2 separate regions of the Homo sapiens genome follow, and region 2 is linked to region 1. The links are contacts of gene promoters, found by promoter capture Hi-C in blood cells and fetal thymus (Javierre and others, 2016). All regions are on one chromosome and are shown on one strand. Each heading gives the region's core, a stretch centred on a gene start or on the middle of the fragment in contact. The rest is flanking DNA. Distances are from core to core; before and after follow the strand shown. Region 1 holds the start of HIRIP3 (HIRA interacting protein 3). Region 2 holds the start of ZNF764 (zinc finger protein 764).

The links. Contacts are between HindIII fragments. The CHiCAGO score rates a contact against its expected background, and 5 or more counts as called.
Region 2: the fragment with the promoter of ZNF764 here is called in contact with the fragment with the promoter of HIRIP3 in region 1 in 6 of 17 cell types (non-activated CD4 T cells, fetal thymus, naive CD4 T cells and 3 more); the score reaches 6.5 in non-activated CD4 T cells.

The regions. Positions count from the first base shown.
Region 1 is chr16:29,994,157-29,997,179 of GRCh38, reverse strand. It overlaps HIRIP3 (HIRA interacting protein 3), which reads left to right and starts at 1,563. Exons shown (of 7, transcript NM_003609.5): 1 at 1,563-1,639; 2 at 1,717-1,837; 3 at 1,963-2,077; 4 at 2,337-3,023. The coding sequence starts at 1,575. INO80E (INO80 complex subunit E) reads right to left here and starts at 939. Exons shown (of 7, transcript NM_173618.3): 1 at 789-939; 2 at 563-633; 3 at 320-372. The coding sequence starts at 869. RefSeq lists enhancers at 856-985, 1,046-1,215. The HindIII fragment of the contact is 4,684 bases long and covers 268-3,023 here.
Region 2 is chr16:30,556,857-30,559,879 of GRCh38, reverse strand. It overlaps ZNF764 (zinc finger protein 764), which reads left to right and starts at 1,506. Exons shown (of 3, transcript NM_001172679.2): 1 at 1,506-1,893; 2 at 2,034-2,147. The coding sequence starts at 1,698. RefSeq lists enhancers at 1,377-1,516, 2,057-2,618. The HindIII fragment of the contact is 20,167 bases long and covers 1-3,023 here.

The DNA.
Region 1 (3,023 bases), core at 314-2,813:
AGTCCTTCCTATGACCTAAAATTCTAGTCTATTGTCTTCATTTACTTATTCTTCCCAACTAGAATATAAATTACAAGAGGCCAAGGGCTTTGCCTATCTCTGCCTCTGCTGTATCCCCTGTGCCAAGCACAGTGCCTGAAACACAATAGGTGCTCAGTAAGTGCCTGAATGAAAGAACGGTGGAGGTGGAAGGCAAGCAACTAGGCTTAAGGACCACTGGGGGCTGCATCAGCCACCACTGCCTAAAAGGCGGGGGCCCAGGAAGCTTGCTAAGTACCAGGAACCATGCTCTCCACCAATTTTTGAAGACCTTGCTCACCCGAAGAGTCTTCATCCACGTTCTCGTACTGCAGAAGTCGGTCTAGGAGGAAACTGAGGGGAGGGAAGGAGACACGGACAGTGATTTTCCAGCGCAGCAATGTCCTCCTGGGTACCTGTCCCTCCCAGCTGGCCCATCGGATACTTGAAAGAGCCCATGCACTTGTGGCCCTACTCGGGGATGGGGTCCGAATGTAGATTTCCTAGGAAGCACATCGCCCTCCGCCCCTGCAACGTGCCTCACCTCTTGTCCCGGGACACCTTCAGTAATTTCCTTTGCGCTTTCCTCAGCTCCTCCTGGAAGCACTCGTGCTCCTGTATCACGGGCAAGGGGTGCGCTGGGCCAACGGTCCTCCGTGAAGGGCCCCGGAACCAGCGGCCGCTCGCCCCACCCACTTTACACCTGGGTAAACTGAGATCTTGTCCGCGCCAGGCCTCATCCCCCACAGCCTTCCCGCGGCAGCACTCACGTAGATGAGGAACTTGAGCTTCCGCTTCAGATTCCGGTATTTTTTTTTGTAGTCCACTTCGCCGTCCGCCGGCCCGTTCATGACCGGCCCGGGAGTGGCGCCCAGAGTCTGCCCTCCCGCTACCCCAAGCAGTGGCTGCCGTGCCGCTCCCGCCTCCACTTCCGGAGACGCTGCAAGGCTGTGCCGTCAGGACTACAACTCCCGGCGTACCCCGCGCTCAGGGGCGTCACCGCACGGGCCGACCTCCCGGGGGACACTGGGACAGGAGCGCGGCAGCCACTGCGCTGGGGATGGCGTAGCAGCGACGCGGTGACGCCACAAAAATGGCGGACGCTGGAAAGCGCCGTTCCTGACTCTAATGTACTTAGACACTTGAAGCCACAAAAGGATTTATCCCCGAGGTTCCTCATCTGCTCGCGAGGATGCCTTTTCTCTTCTGCCTTGCGAAATAACAGCAGCCTAGCTGTTGCCCGTGACCAGTGAGAAAGGCAGCGTCGCGGGCTGATTAGGTTTCACCCAAAGGGTGCCGGCGCCGAATTGGTTTCTAACGAGAACTTTTAAAATGATCCGTTCCAAAAAAGGGTAGGAGCCGCGAGACCCTCCAACTGCCCAGAGAAAACAAGTCTCGTCTGGCAAAGTTCTCGGCCCACGCGGTCCGCGGCCAAGGGCCAACGGTCCCTCGCCCCACGTTGCCGCAGCACTGCGCGTGCGCGAGCCGCTGTCAAACGCGCTGACGGAGGCCGAGAAGAAAAAAAGGCGGGAGCCGTCAATCCCGGGTTGAGCAAAATGGCGCGGGAGAAGGAGATGCAGGAGTTCACCCGTAGCTTCTTCCGAGGCCGCCCGGACCTCAGGTGCCCAGGGGGTTGGAGATGGGGTTGGAAAGGGCGCGGGTGGGTCGGGACTCCGTCCTGACACCATGTCCCTGCAGCACGCTTACGCATTCCATCGTGCGGCGGAGGTACTTAGCTCACTCGGGCCGCAGCCACCTGGAGCCCGAGGAGAAGCAGGCACTGAAGCGGCTGGTGGAGGAGGAGCTGCTGAAGATGCAGGTGTGCCGGGCCGGAGCCTGGGCCGCGGGAGGCGGAGGCGGGGCTTGCTGCTGAGGAGGAGGGGCCTGACGGGGCGCGGTGAGCGCAGCCTTGGTGCATAGTTTGCCCTCTTGGCGCACACACAGGTGGATGAAGCCGCTTCCAGGGAAGACAAACTGGACCTTACCAAGAAGGGCAAGAGGCCTCCCACCCCTTGTAGCGACCCGGAGAGAAAAAGGTTCCGCTTCAATTCAGAGTCGGGTTAGTGCTTCCTCCCTGCTGTGGGGGCCTTCTGCATCGTTGGTTCACTCAAGAAGCATTCACTGCGCATCTCTTATGTCCCCAGGCGTTAGATGAGGGAGCAAGGCTAGTGAGTCAGGAACCGGGAACAGCAAGTACAGATAGCTGTTTCCTGCTGCCCCTCCAACTGTCAGGGCAGGGCTCGAGGCAACCTATCCGAAGTGAAGGGAGAAGGGACAGGAGGAGCCTGTCTCAACCCTCTCTCCTCTCCATATTCCAGAGTCCGGCTCTGAAGCCTCCAGCCCAGACTACTTTGGACCCCCAGCAAAGAATGGGGTGGCAGCAGAAGTCAGCCCAGCCAAAGAGGAGAATCCAAGGCGAGCCTCAAAGGCAGTTGAGGAGAGCAGTGATGAGGAACGGCAGAGGGACCTGCCCGCACAGAGGGGAGAGGAGAGCAGTGAGGAGGAGGAAAAGGGGTACAAGGGGAAGACTAGGAAGAAACCTGTGGTAAAGAAGCAGGCACCAGGCAAGGCCTCAGTCAGTAGGAAGCAGGCCAGGGAAGAAAGTGAGGAGAGCGAGGCAGAACCCGTTCAGAGGACAGCAAAGAAGGTGGAGGGAAATAAAGGAACTAAAAGCCTGAAGGAAAGTGAACAGGAGAGTGAAGAGGAGATCCTAGCCCAGAAGAAAGAGCAGAGAGAGGAGGAAGTGGAGGAGGAAGAGAAAGAAGAGGATGAGGAAAAGGGGGATTGGAAACCCAGAACCAGGAGCAATGGCCGGAGAAAGTCAGCTAGGGAGGAGAGGAGCTGTAAGCAGAAAAGCCAGGCAAAGAGGCTCTTGGGAGACTCAGACAGCGAGGAAGAGCAGAAAGAGGCAGCCAGCAGTGGGGATGACAGTGGGAGAGATAGAGAACCCCCAGTGCAGAGGAAGAGTGAGGACAGGACCCAGCTTAAGGGTGGGAAGAGGTTGA
Region 2 (3,023 bases), core at 257-2,756, 560 kb before region 1:
TGGCGCCACACCCTGGGCCTGGTAAAGATCGACCTCTGACCTAATCAGTTTTGTTATTTATAGATTACAGACATTGTATAGAAAAGCACTGTGAAAATCCCTGTCCTGTCCTGTCCTGTTCTAATTACCAGTGCCTGCAGCACCCAGTCACATATCCCCTGCTTGTTCAATGGATCACGACCCTCTCACGGGGACCCCCTTAGAGTTGTGAGCCCTTAAAAGGGACAGGGATTGCTCACTCGGGGAGTCGGTTTTTGAGATGTGAGTCTTGCCGATGCTCCCAGCCGAATAAAACCCTTCCTTCAACTCGGTGTCTGAGGGGTTTTGTCTGTGGCTTGTCCTGCTACAACAGGACATGTATGAAGTCACGTGGAGCACAGAATAGACCATCAGAAAGTGAGAGAGAGGTCTGGGGGAGAGTTGGTGACATTTACTAGATAAAGACCCTAGGGGAAGCAGATTGGGGCAAGAAAGGGATGAGTTGGATTTGAGTAGAGGAGCCTTGGGCCATCTGTCCAGGGGCAGGATGTGAGGGGAGGTGAGAGCCCGGCTGCAGCTACAGGGAGACTGGCAATTGGGAGGCGTCCTGAGCAGCACATGGGAGAAGCTCCTAGAAGAGAGGACCCTCTGACTTTCTCAACCTTACCCTACTCTCCCCACTGCCTCCGCCATCTAGAAACTTCCAGAATTTCAGGCCCCAACAAGCCTACGATGGAGGAGGTTCTCCTGTATCCACTCCTTTTTCTTTCTTTCTTTCTTTTTTATTTTTGAGACAGAGTTTCGCTCTGTCGCCCAGGCTGGAGTGCGGTGAGGCAATCTCGGCTCACTGCAAACTCCGCCTCGCGCGTTCAAGCGATACTCCTGCCTCAGCCTCCCCAGTAGCTGGGATTACAGGTGCACGCCACCACACCTGGCTGTTTTTTTGTGTGTTTTTAGTGGAGACGGGGTTTCACCATGTTGGTGAGGCTGGTCTCGAACTTCTGACCTCAGTTGTTCCGCTGGCCTCGGCCTCCCAAACTGCTGATTACAAGCGTGAGCCACTGCGCCACGCCCACTCCATTGGTTTTTTTACACTCAACATTGGGAAGAGACTGCTGTTGCCCTGTTTCTGAGATAACAAGGACAAAACGAGAGAGTGATGAGCTGGAGCCCGATTATAAAACGGTCCACAAACGAAAACTAATGCCTGAGTTCAGTAAGGCCGGGAGGCCAGCTCACTCCCGCGAGGCGCTCTTTTGTTCGTGCAAACCGGGGCGGAGCTCTCTGCTGCACCGCCTCGCCGGGCCGGGGCGGAGCTCTCTGCTGCACCGCCTCGCCGGGCCGGGGACTAAACATGCGCGGCTAGTTTTCAAGGCCGGCCTCTGTATTAGTCACCGCGGCCATTTTGGATGAGGGTACGGAGAGAACGCGGACTGGAGATACCGGGGGCGTTGTCTTGGGCACGACTGCGTAGGGGCAAAGGTCGAGTACCCGCGCCGCCGCCATTTTTTATGAGGGCATATTCCATTTCTGATTATACACCCGCTGCCATCGGCACCGTTAGTTTCCACGCCCTCTAGTGCGCCCTCGGGGGCCCTAGTAACCTCCCTCCTTCCCTTGGGCCCGGGCCGGGGAGGCTTTCTCGGGCGCAGGAGGTTCCGCAGGCCCAGGCCAGGCCAGGGGAGGCAGCCGATCCGTCGTCGGGGTTGACAGTTACCATGGCGCCGCCTCTGGCCCCGCTCCCTCCCCGGGACCCAAACGGGGCCGGACCCGAGTGGAGGGAGCCGGGGGCTGTGAGCTTCGCGGACGTGGCCGTGTACTTCTGCCGGGAGGAGTGGGGCTGCTTGCGGCCAGCGCAGAGGGCCCTGTACCGGGACGTGATGCGGGAGACCTACGGCCACCTGAGCGCTCTCGGTGAGAGCCCCACCTGCTCGCCTGAGCCCTGCGCCCCCACAGGCCCTGCCGCGCCTCTGGGAGCTGCGCGTGAAGTTGGGGGCCCCGGGGCCGGGCAGGTGGCCTCCCCGCAGCGTGGGGTTTGCGTTCTTCTTCCCTAGGAATCGGAGGCAACAAGCCAGCTCTCATCTCCTGGGTGGAGGAGGAGGCCGAACTGTGGGGTCCGGCTGCCCAGGATCCGGAGGTGGCGAAATGTCAGACACAAACGGACCCAGGTGGAGTATCGGGTGCTCAGTCCCATGGGGACTTCTCTGTTCCTGTCCCATCCCGGTACCCTCTGCCACCTCCAGCTACCTGCTTAGCAGTTTCCTCTCTGAACTGCCTTCTCAACTGCGACGACGAGGCTGAGCCCCTGCGTGGCTCCCAGATGCAGCCTAGAAAGGAGCTGTGATGGGGGCTCTGGCCCTGCCATACCCGCCTCTGAGTCCTCACCTCTGCGTGGTCACTACACTCTGGGGGCTTTTTTTGGTGTTTTTGTTTTAGAGACAGGGTCTCGCTTTGTTGTCTAGGCTGAGTGCAGTGGCGGCATCATAGCTCACTGTAGCCTGGAACTCCCGGGCTTAAGCAGTCCTTCCACCTGGGCCTCCAGAGTAGCTAAGACTGTACAGGTGCTCGCCACGAAGCCTGGGTAATTTTTTTTTTTAGACAGAGTTTTACTCCGTTGCCCAGGCTGGAGTGCAGTGGTGCCATCTCAGTTCACTGCAACCTCCCACTCCCAGGTTCAAGTAATTCTCCTGTATCAACCTCCCAAGTAGCTGGGATTACAGGCGCCCGCCACCAAGCCTGCTTAATTTTTTTTTTTTTTTTTGAGACAGAGTCTTCCTCTGTCGCGCAGGCTGGAGTGCAGTGGCGCCATCTCGGCTCAGTGCAAGCTCCGCCTCCCTGGTTGACGCCATTCTCCCGCCTCAGCCTCCCCAGTAGCTGGGACTACAGGCGCCCGCCACCACGCCCGGCTAATTTTGTTTTTGTGTTTTTAGTAGAGATGGGGTTTCACCATGTTAGCCAGGCTGGTCTCGAACTTCTGACTTTGTGATCTGCCCGCCTCGGCCTCCCAAAGTGCTGGGATTACAGGCGTGAGCCACCGCGCCCAG